4 separate regions of the Homo sapiens genome follow, and regions 1, 3 and 4 are each linked to region 2. Evidence: promoter capture Hi-C in 16 types of primary human blood cells and fetal thymus (Javierre and others, 2016). All regions are on one chromosome and are shown on one strand. Each heading gives the region's core, a stretch centred on a gene start or on the middle of the fragment in contact. The rest is flanking DNA. Distances are from core to core; before and after follow the strand shown.

Region 1 (2,869 bases), core at 104-2,603, 330 kb after region 2:
AGATGACATCAGTCATGGCAAATAAAGGAAAATGACATACTTTTTTTTTTTTTTCTCATTTGATTTGTAATTCCTAAACTTCTATCTGGGTACAGACGTTTTGGATTATTCAGAGATTTAAAAAATACATACTAACTCTGTTCCCCTGTGGTAATTAAAAGTTGGCCATGTAAGAAAGAAAATATTAAAAGTATGGAGAAGGCTGTAGAAAAAGGGAATAGATCCAGAGATTCTAGGGGAATATCAACCTCATGCTAAGCCAAGCCGTGAGGACATGGTGAATTCACTGATGAGCAAGAAGCAAAGCCGCTTGTCAGCTGGTATTAAATGTTGACTTCTCCCTAGTCTTTGTGTCTTGGTCAATACCAAATGAGAGAATGTTTGCTCTTAAGTTCACTCTAGGAAACTACCCACCAAAAACTTGCTTTACCTTTCTGTCTCTTTTCTTTTCCTTTCCTTTCCTTTCCCTCCCCCTCCCCTCCCCCACCCCTCCCCTACCCCCTCCCCTCCCCTCCCCCTCCCCCCTCCCCCTCCCCTCCCCTCCCCCTTCCCTCCCCCTACAGTTTCTGGTTCTCTGGGCACGTTTTGATCCCAGTGAGAAGCTTCTTTTGTACCAAACTTCCCAAATCCCATCATTGCATTGTTATCTGGCTTTGAAATGTCACTGTGGCATCTCCACCCTTGCTTGGGAAACTTTGCTCAATGAAAAGTCTGATTAGCTTTACCTGACCCTAAATACACACAACAGAGACGGATCACAGAAGGACCAGAAGCAACAGGTTGGAGAGGTTCTTTCCGGTTAGCAATCCAAACCTCTGCACCTATTTGGCCTCTAGGCGGCGCCAGCCCTTCAAAAAACAAGGCTGTTTATGTAACAGATTGGCAGTTTGAACGTCTATATAAATGTCATTCTTTAAAAATAAAGACGAAACTCTCAGTTAACTTAAACAGGAGCAAATTAAAAAGTAGAGTGAAGCATGTATTTCATGAACACAATTCATCGGCTGTCTTTGGTACTTCAAAATGAAACATTTTCTCCAAATAACTGGCACCCTCCCACTGGCTTTAGCTACATAGTGACAAAACAACAGATCAATTCACTTCAGTGAAGAAGACAAATCCAGTCATTGAGGACTGGCTTCATGTGACTTACACACCTGGGGACAGAATTCTATCTATGCCACCAAATATATAAGCCAAGCCACTAAATCATGACTGAGGTGTTGAGTTTATCCTCCCAAACATATCGAGGTAGTGTTGTATGGACAGTCTCAATTGTTTTGAACATGATTATTTTGCTTCATGAACTCACCAGGAGGGTCCTTGAAATGCCGCTTTTCAACATAGTTTTAAGGGTAAGCCTGTAACACATAAAGCCGTCTCATTTTGAAGGCTTTGTGTCCTTGTGTGTTAATGCAGAATCTCAATCTTAGCTTCAAAATGGAATCACTTGGGGAGCTTTAAAAAAAATCCCAAGACTCAGGCACATACCCCAAACCAATTAAATAAGGATCTCTGGAGCTGGGACCCAAGCAACAGTGCTTTTTCCAGGCTCCTTAGGTGATACAATATGAGGCTATATTTTTGGTTCCTCTACTTTCTACTTGCAGCTCCTTCTCCCATGGGGCTGGCTACAGGAACCAATCTCCAGTACTTACACTATTTTCCCCCAGTTCCTTTTTCTCCCTGGGTCTGTCCCCAAACTTCATGCAGAACAATGCCTGTGAACAAGTCACATGCCCTTTAGATTCTTCCAGACCTATTTGAAATTCAGTGGTAGCCACATCTTGACTTCAAGTTTGGGGCCCTATACAGTCATTGACTAGTAGATATGAACAGTACCTCATAGGTTGTCTAGTATGGTGACTCCCAAATACCAGTCCTGAGCTGAATTCTCATCCTGAATAAGAATAATCCAGGGAGCTTGTTTAAAAAATTGTGTGTGTGTGTGTGTGTGTATGTGTGTGTGTGTGTGTGTGTACACACATATATAATAGAAATCCATCTATCTCTCTATATATACGTATAATTTTGTTACCAGAAAGTCTCATTCAGTAGGTCTACAGAAAGACCTGAAAGCTGTGTTTTAACAAGCTAAGCTTAAAGGAAACTCATCTAGTCCAACACTGCCAACACATAGCAGCAGCAAAATCTCAATGGGATATGCCTTGTTCAAGGAAACTTGTCTAGTCAGGAGAAGCGATAGGATTAGAATCAGGTGTCCTGACTCCTGTGAAAAGAAGTCATGCTATGGACAAATACAGTTTTTGCATTTCAAAACTAAACACACACACACACACACACACACACACACACACACACAGCCTTGCCAATCTTACCAGTTAGACATTAGAGAAAGAGCAAACCATCCTGGGAAATCAGATCTGGGTCCTAGCTCCTGCTTGGTCACATAAGCTGTGTGGTTTGGGGCAAATATTTTCATCTCTTTGAACCCCAGTTTCTTCATCTTTCAAATGGGGGTAATAGTTGCCTCATAGAGTTTTGTGAGGATTAAATGATACAACATATCTGAAAGATGGATAGTGGAGCCTGGTACTGAGTAAACAAAACTGGTTGCTACCACCTCTACTATTATGCTACTATTGTGATCATTATTATGAACATTAATCAGCTTTTGTCTGGCCTTGTGATATGGTAGAATGAGTCAGATATTGGCCCAAAGGGATCCTCCATGTTCTTTTACTTCAGTGATGCTTGAGGCCCTTGTCCAACTCAGCATGTCAGAAAAAATGACCGGAAGGAGCCTGAAGCTTTTTGTTTGTTAGATATATTTTTTTGATTATAAAGGAAATATACATCATTGTAGAGTACATAGAAATGTTCAGAATCATTGCAAAATATTGCCTTC
Region 2 (2,751 bases), core at 252-2,751:
ACCAGAAGAGAGCTGTGCCCTAGCAGCCAAGCAAGGAGAGTCCAGTTAGATCAAGAGTTAAGACTAAGAAGAGCATAGAATGGAACATTGTGTCTCTAGAGATCAACAGGATGTCTATATTGCAGACCCAGTGATGTGGTAGGGCACACCTGGATTCAAATGTGGCTGCTCCCTTATTAGGTCTGTGGCTTTTAGTAAAAGGCTGTCTAGCTTCAGATTCTGCATCTGTAAAATAGGGATAATATCTCCCTGATAGAGTTATTGTAGGGTTGAGATGAATTAGCATACGCAATGTGCCTAGCACTTTGCAGATCCTCAGTAAAGACTGATTCTTCTCTCCCAATACAACTCTGGCTATTTATTAATTTGTTTTGCTTGTCACTCTCCTTGATTTCTTAGCATTGGTGTTGGTGACCTACCTGTTAGGATCATCACAGGTCCTGTCCCACATCACTCTGGGTGTCAGCAAGTTGTGAGTGACAAATCAATGATCTGGACACTATAGATAGTTAGGTGCCCACCTGTATCTCTTGATATGCAGAGAGACACAGCACTAGGAACTGGATAAGGATACAATATGCCCTTCTTCATCATACCAAGTTTTTCCCTTCCAGGGAAATAAACTCCAGTTACCAAAATGAATACCCAATCTTGTCTTGACCATCCTTCTGCACTATTTCCAATTGTATAACTCTCTAATGCAAAATATTAGTAATAAATGACTGAACATAATTTAGGATTTAAAATTTTTTTTTCAGAGGCAGCATTGGCCTTCCTAGATTTTTTGGATTGCTAGAAGGAGCCACTACCTGCTCCTTTCCTTCATTTTTCTCTATTAGATGTAGTGAATGTCCCCTACTCATTCAGAACTCTTGCTCTGCGCACCACCTCTGACAGTGTTTACAGTAACTGTGGTTTTGGCAAATGCAATAACTACCCATTGGACTACTCAATGCTTGCCTTAAACTAAACCCCAGAAAAGGCTGGACACCGTTATGGAAAGACTGACATATTTCTATTGCTGCTAACAGGGGATACCTAACTTTTAAATATGTTTAAGAATTAACCTTATATTTCTAATTAGCACACGTTTGTTATTGACGGTGGCCATGTTTTCCGAAGCAAACATAACATTTAATAAGCAAAAGAGTATTTTTAGGAACAGGCAACTATATTAAATGAGAATTGTTACAGAAACTACAAGGCTTGGGGTCGTGCAGCTACTAAACGTGTACTATTTAAATTATAACAGACCTATGATCTCATTCTACTTTCAGAATGAAAACGGTAAACATTCTGACATGGTAATTGGGGATAGCAGGAGCTGATGGAAAGAAGATCGGGATTGTTAGCATTTCTCTATCCGTCTAGCACGCCAGACAGGGCCAGTCTCTCCGGCTGGGGGCACTGCGTGGGCAACAGCGACCGTGAGGGCGCGCGTCTGCGCTGGGGCCTCGCGCGCGTTCCACGATGAAGACTGCGCGTTTGAGTGTCCCTGGCAACGCCACGCTTCCGCCTTCTGGAAGCCTGCACTCCAGCTTCGAGTGTGAGAGACCCGTCCCGGTGGGAGGGACCTGGGCTGGGGGGGACGGTAGGGGAACAAGGGCGTGGGACTGGGGAAGCTTCTGGGAACATTTGCTCTAGGTATTCAGCTAAACTAAGAAAAATTGGTCCAAGGCTCGGCACAAAAGGATCTTCTCATTCCAGTCCTTTCGCCCACGCAGGGAACGATGCCTCTGGAGGTGGTGGTGGAGCTGCAGATCCGGGCGGTAAGAGATCGATGAACTCCCCCTCCTTAACCTCAAGTCGGACTCTAAATAGTCTCAGGTGGTTTTCAACAACCCTCCCCCACATCCCCCACTTACCACAAACACATCATTATCTTCTGGGACAGATCGCACCTTTGTCTTTTTCTCCATATTGGTTTTCCCTGACTTCCTAACCTTTAATTCAGCTCCACCTGTTCCCACTTTTTTTTTTTTCTGTTCTAAAGCTAACATGTTTCTTATCTTTATCATGAATTTTTAATTTCTTTTCAAACAACCCTGCATTAAGTCCAGGTAGAATTTATTTTCTTCTCCTGGATAAAGATTTGTGAAAGGATTTTCAACTTCTTTAAATAACCAGGGAATAATTTTAAAAAGCTCCATCACTTCCTGATTATTTGCCAACTCTATGAACCAATCAGATATTTTCTATGATATTTCCCCTTAGTGATAGCTCTGGCTTGCTAATTCCAAAAGGGAAATCAATCAATCACTATTTCGTAATTACCAAATCCTTCCTAAGTGAAGTGCTGTGGCAGAGTGACTCCATGGTTTCTACTTGGGGGTCTGTCACTCCCTCTTATTTCAGTTTCCATTTTCCAATCCTTCCATGTAGTTAGTAACAGAATATCATGCCGCTTTTCCTCTAGGGGCTTTTCTACTGGCTATGATTACAAGCACAGTGCTAACAGGAAATTGTCATGGAATCTGGTTGTCTTCCATACAATTGGCAAATGGTGTGGTTTCATCATACATGTGGGTGTGAAAGGTGATCAACATTTCCTGGATTTGTCCCACTTTGCTGACAGCAAATAGGGCTAGACCTTATTAGTAGTGCTATACCAGTTTTAAGCTCTAAAAATTGTGCAGGAAGAAGGAACTCTTGAGAAGCTAAGTGATAAATCTGTCTCCCTCCTCATCAAGGCAAAAATTAAGCAAGTTTTCATCTCACTTCATTCACCATTATTTGTTAATTTTATTTTGA
Region 3 (2,753 bases), core at 43-2,542, 280 kb after region 2:
TTCCTTGGGCTGTATAGTATTCCATGGTGTATAATGTACCACATTTTCTTTATCCAGTCTGTCACTGATGGGCATTTGCATTGATTCCATGTCTTTGCTATTGTGAATAGTGCTGGAATGAACATACGCATGCATATATCTTCATAATAGAATGATTTATATTCCTTTGGGTATATACCCAGTAATGGGATTGCTAGGCCAAATGGTATTTCTGGTTCTAGGTCTTTGAGGAATCGCCACATTGTCTTCCACAATGGTTGAACTAATTTACATTCCTCCCCAAAAATATGTACATTTGTAAGAATATTAACAGTACCAGGTACTGGATGTGTGTTTCATTGTACTAAGTGCTTTACCAAATCCCTATTGACAGTACAAACCTCTATCTGAATTTCCTGCTCTTAATCGAGATTTTTAAAATATAATTTTCCCCCAAATTTCGGTTAAATATTTACATATCTGGTAGAATAAACTGACCATCTCAACCTACCCGAGCCCAACACACACACACACACACACACACACACCCCTCTTAGAATGGAATAAATCTAGCAATGAGGAAGAAACTACTTGAACCTGGTGCCAGGTGACACAGGCAGAGTGATTTTTCAGTTATTGGGAAAAACCTTAATGAAAACAGGCTCAGAAAAAAAGTCTACTGTTATTAATCCAAAAGAAGTAGAGTTAAAACTATACCAATAAGAGAACACACCCCCTATATAGACTAGACAAGCAATCTTTGGAAGAAATTGCTTTTCTCACAGAAAAATTAGATGGTCTCTAAGGAATTTCTGAAGGAAACCTGGAGGCAGGCTCTTCTGGAGGTGAGGTACCCCCCATGTCCCCACTGTCCCTTCCACCAGAGATGAGTGCATCTATGAAAGGGGGATCAGAGGAAGCCTCACTGACCTCCAGGTAAAGCCAGAGGCAGCAGAATATTACAGACTGAAGAGGTGGCTGGGTCTAGGGCTTTCTATCCTGGCAGCGATGGTGGGCAGAGATAGAAAGGGAGAGTGAGATGGAGAGGAATGACATCCAAACAGAGGAGAAGACAGGAGGATGAGTAGACAGAGAAATAGGCAGGAAGCAAGCCTTTGTGGAGATACTTTCTCAAAGGCCCCAATGTGGAGAACTTGTTTCCCTTCTGAGACATAAGAAAGGGCATTAACTTTTTTAAAAAGGTACGATTCCTGTTTCTGCCTCCAGCTCTCTACTGCTTTGGGTCATACATGAATCTTTCAGAAAGACAGTGATCTAAACCCTGTCCCAGCGGAGTCCAAGGAAGGTAGAAAGTTAGGATAAGGAGAGGTAGCCCCATTGTATAGGATGAGTATCTGTCCTGTCCCACAGTGGACTACTGGGTGGGGAAGAGCCACCACCAACTCTGGATCTTCTAGCCTGAGAGAAAGGTGATTTCCTAACTCCCTTGACTTTTCACCCTCTTCAGAGGGTCACCACAGATATCTGTATGAGGCCAGAGAGACTGGGCACTCCCATGGGTATAAGCGTATAAACCCTACTTGCAGTTTATGAAGTTTATCAAGTACCACTGGGCATGATGGTGTGTGCCCATAGTCTCAGCTATCCAGGAGGCAGAGGCAAGAGTATCACTTGAGCTTAGAAGTTTGCGGGTACAATGAGATATGAATGCTCCAATGCACTACAGCTTGGGAGGCTGAGCAAGACCCTGTTTAAAAAAAAAAAAAGACTTTTATCAAGTACGTAATATATAAAAACAATATCTGGGTTTAGACTGCCACAAAGTCTACTTATGCTCTTTCCTGCACATAGTGCAAAGTATTGCACCCTATGCATATTATGAATGATTGCTCTCAATACATAGAAGTGATTGCATACTTCAGCTGCGGCTGCTGCTTTCCCCCTCCAACTTTATTCTCCACAATTTGGAATGTTTCAGAGATCTTCAAACATGTCATGATCTTTCAGGCATCTATACATGTCCGTGGTTCCCTCTACCTCAAATGTCTCTCTTTTCTCCTCTGCCAGAAATTTTTTATTAGTCTGGGTTTTAGCCCATTGCAGCACATAGTATTTGTTCAGGAAGTGTTGATGGAATGAAAGAAAGAATGAGTGAATAATTCCCTTCTCCACTGTCTTAGAACGTTCTATATGTGTCACTCATTTTACTTATCACACTGTGTTGCTTCTTACGTATCTGCCACAGATTCTTGATGTCGAGCACTGCTGCCTGGCAGGATAAACCAATAGAAGAGTGCCTGAAATATAGCAAATGTTCAACAAATTATTGTTGAATTGATCTGAACTGTTCACTCCCTCTTGGACATCTGCTTATTCACTGCACTTGGGCACCTGTATGTCTGTATGCGGTGCCGTCTGTGTGTCTTTCCTCAAATGCAGGTGTTTTTGTAATATGGCTTTCTGGCTTGACGTGATGTGATTGTCTTGGGCAGAAGTTAGCATACTTCCAGTGTCCAGGACTAAGAAGTATATTTAGCTGGTTATTTTGATTTAGATTCTTCTATTGAACTCTAAATTTTTAGTTAGTTCAAGATCCAAGAACCTTTGGAAATGCAGACTCTACAGGACCATATTTCACCAACAAGGGCTTTTTAGTTCCAGCAGCCTTTGGAAGTCCCACGTGGCTCTATGCACTGTGCGATATCCAGGCAAAATGAATCCCCTTCCCTCACAACCTACGAGTTCTGGGCTGTAAGTCATGTCACGCCCTACATTGTATAGGAGGGAAATCCAGTACTTCCTTGAAGGGGAAG
Region 4 (2,700 bases), core at 134-2,633, 320 kb before region 2:
ATCTGTTGAAAAATATCTCCTAGGTTTTATTATGCCTAAAATTCTCATCCTTAGTCCTAGTGATGGAGAGCTTTGGAAAAGTCTCCACTGATCACCCAACTGTCAAATCCAAAGGTCTTTTGTTAAACCGGAGAGAACAAAATATTAACAGTGGTTATTTCCACGTAGGGAAAGTATAAGCAATTTTCTTCTGTTTTTATAGATTTCTTATTAGGAAAAACACGAATACATCTTTTTAAGACCTTTTTTTGGATCTGATTCTTCTCATTTCTTGCCAATGATCAACATGTTGATCATTCCGCCTCCTAACCTATCCACTAATTTGCCTCTCATACTGTTTTTTTCTTTGTCTCCTTTACCCATTCCTCTCCTTTCACCCACCCGCTAATTATGGGCAATCCCACTCTTTTCTCTTAAGTACCACAGCACCAGCCTTAACTTCGCTAACAAATTCTAGTCATATGTCCCACTGTATGCTATCAATTTTCACTTGCCCATCCCACGGCCACCGCAAACTCAACATATCCACAATATACGCTCAACTGTCTACATCCCCTCTACCAGCTACTAACACTGCCATAACTATTTTTGTTAGTAACTGCCATTAATCAAACGGCAGTTTCTTTGTCATTAACTAGCTGAGTAACTTTGGACACATTTTTAAATCTCTCTGGTCTGAGTCCTAATATACAAAACATATAGACTTAGATGTTCTAAGATGTCTTGGAGAGTCAACACTCTTTGATTTCCTCCGTCACTGAAAAGCAAACCTTCAAGGTAAGGTAATCTTTAATCACTCTTCTCCCCTCCATTCTCCCTTCTTATCCAATCCATAATAATGTCTTGTGACATCTCTGCAATCTGACTTATTTCTAAGTCCTCATTACTTCAGGGCTCAATTATTTTCCTACCTCTTTCTACCATTCTCTTTCCAATTCATATGAGACCTAGCACTGGTGCTGCTTTGATTTTCCTAAAATACTTATTTCAGCAAACTCTTTCTCAATTCAAAACTTTTAAAGCTTCTCCATATCTACAGGTCAAAGTACATTCTTCTCATCCTAGCATTTAAAGACATCCATAATCAAATTCCAACTACATTTTTAACACAATTTCTTACTACTCTTTCACACAAATCTTCATTTCAGTCAAGTTATTTATGTACTGCTCTCTGAACATATCATACATATATACATATTTTGCCTTTGCTTACCCCCTCTACCAGTTCCTTCCTATTATGCAAAATCTCTGCTCAACTCAAGTGGTCTTAAATATCTGTAACTTTTATTATTTAGCTTATCTGCCCAATTATACTGTAAGTCCTTAGGGAAAGGAGCCTATTTTATATTTCTTTATTTCTCTTTTGAATACAGCCAAGTACCTTTTACATTGCAAGTATTAACAAATATTTGTTTGGTGACTACAGTTCCTTATCACACAATCAACATGTATTTCTTGAATGCTGCCCATGTGCTCTCCACTGTGTGTTGTGGTTTTTTTTTAATCTAAGGTACTGCTCCTCAAAGAATACACAATCAACTTGAAAAGATATGGCTAACACTAGGGAAATAACTATCAAACAACTAAAGCATGGCATATAATTAAACCATGTGAAAATGTTCTAAGACTAAAGAGCTACAGAAATAGAGGAAAAAAAAGAGGGATGGAGAACATGGGCAAAAATTAAAGGATAGAAGAAGCATAGCTTATTATTAGAAAGTGTGGAAATCAGCTTACAAGCTTAAGGACTAGAGATCCTTAGACAAAAGACTAAATAAATAGGGCAGGGATTGATAATAGACTATCTTAAAAGTCAGGAAAATTTAATAAGTAGAAAATGGTAAGCCACTGAAGGTTTTGGGGCAAGGGAATGCTATAATAAGGAGTATTAGAGTGGAATCTCTATTGAGGATAAACAGAAGGAAGGGACACTGAATTCTCAGAAGTTCAAATGACTTTCAATATTCTAGGCTCAGGAAATGTGTCCTGGGATTCACACAGTAAAGGAGGGAAAGCAGAGATATGAGAAAGAAAGGAAATATGGACATTTTGAATGGGAATAAGAGGTAAATGAAAGAAGTAGTTTAAAGATGATGCCTAATTTAAAGCCTACATGATTAGAAGAAAATTAAGGGGTAGAAAATGGTAACTTTCACTTGGGGCATTCGGAGTTTAAGGAGATGAACAGAAGTAGAAGCAGAAGACCAGTACAGGAAAAACCAGGAAGTGACTAGTACAACAAGTTAGCAATAGGATTAGTTTTAAAATGAAAGAACTGGGCAGAAGTTATAAACATATTACATAGGAGAGGAAATATATTAAGCCATGATCAGCTGGTACTAGCTTTATATCAATAATTTTATCAGAAAAGCAAACTAAAAGCTAAGGCAGAGGTTTCCAAACCCATTCAGGGAGCTCTGAGTCTTAGCAAATTTTTCACGACACCCCCAGGCCAAAAGAAATAGGTTTGAACAACTTACTTAGTAGTTATGTCCTTACAACTTAGTGTAGAGCACTGTAGAACTTATCAAACCTTAGAATCAAATTGGACAATACCACACTGTCATTTCCTGTTCTACATTCATTTTCATGTAGTAGTTGCTTTTTATCGGAGCAACCTCTGAAAATACATCTTTACAAAGACATGACATTGTAGAAACGGGTGTAGGTATCTAATATTGAAACCATGAACCAACTCAA

Evidence for each region. Contacts are between HindIII fragments. The CHiCAGO score rates a contact against its expected background, and 5 or more counts as called.
Region 1: a contact is called between a fragment that was not itself captured here and the fragment with the promoter of SPATA6L in region 2, in 1 of 17 cell types (naive CD4 T cells). The highest score is 5.1, in naive CD4 T cells.
Region 3: a fragment that was not itself captured here is called in contact with the fragment with the promoter of SPATA6L in region 2 in 1 of 17 cell types (naive CD4 T cells); the score reaches 5.6 in naive CD4 T cells.
Region 4: a contact is called between a fragment that was not itself captured here and the fragment with the promoter of SPATA6L in region 2, in 1 of 17 cell types (total B cells). The highest score is 5.0, in total B cells.

The regions. Positions count from the first base shown.
Region 1 is chr9:4,337,479-4,340,347 of GRCh38, reverse strand. It overlaps a transcript of GLIS3 not described here. Among named protein-coding and RNA genes, the nearest start is that of GLIS3, 39 kb to the right of the region's middle. RefSeq lists an enhancer at 665-959. The HindIII fragment of the contact is 1,497 bases long and covers 605-2,101 here.
Region 2 is chr9:4,665,230-4,667,980 of GRCh38, reverse strand. SPATA6L (spermatogenesis associated 6 like) reads left to right here and starts at 1,501. Exons shown (of 12, transcript NM_001353486.2): 1 at 1,501-1,769. The coding sequence starts at 1,731. It overlaps PLPP6 (phospholipid phosphatase 6), which reads right to left. Exons shown (of 1, transcript NM_203453.5): 1 at 2,723-2,751. RefSeq lists silencers at 1,573-1,652, 1,663-1,712. The HindIII fragment of the contact is 11,868 bases long and covers 1-1,624 here.
Region 3 is chr9:4,389,325-4,392,077 of GRCh38, reverse strand. It overlaps a transcript of GLIS3 not described here. Among named protein-coding and RNA genes, the nearest start is that of GLIS3, 91 kb to the right of the region's middle. The HindIII fragment of the contact is 7,468 bases long and covers 1-2,753 here.
Region 4 is chr9:4,988,252-4,990,951 of GRCh38, reverse strand. All of the region lies in intron 2 of JAK2 (Janus kinase 2), which reads right to left. Among named protein-coding and RNA genes, the nearest start is that of JAK2, 4.3 kb to the right of the region's middle. The HindIII fragment of the contact is 718 bases long and covers 1,025-1,742 here.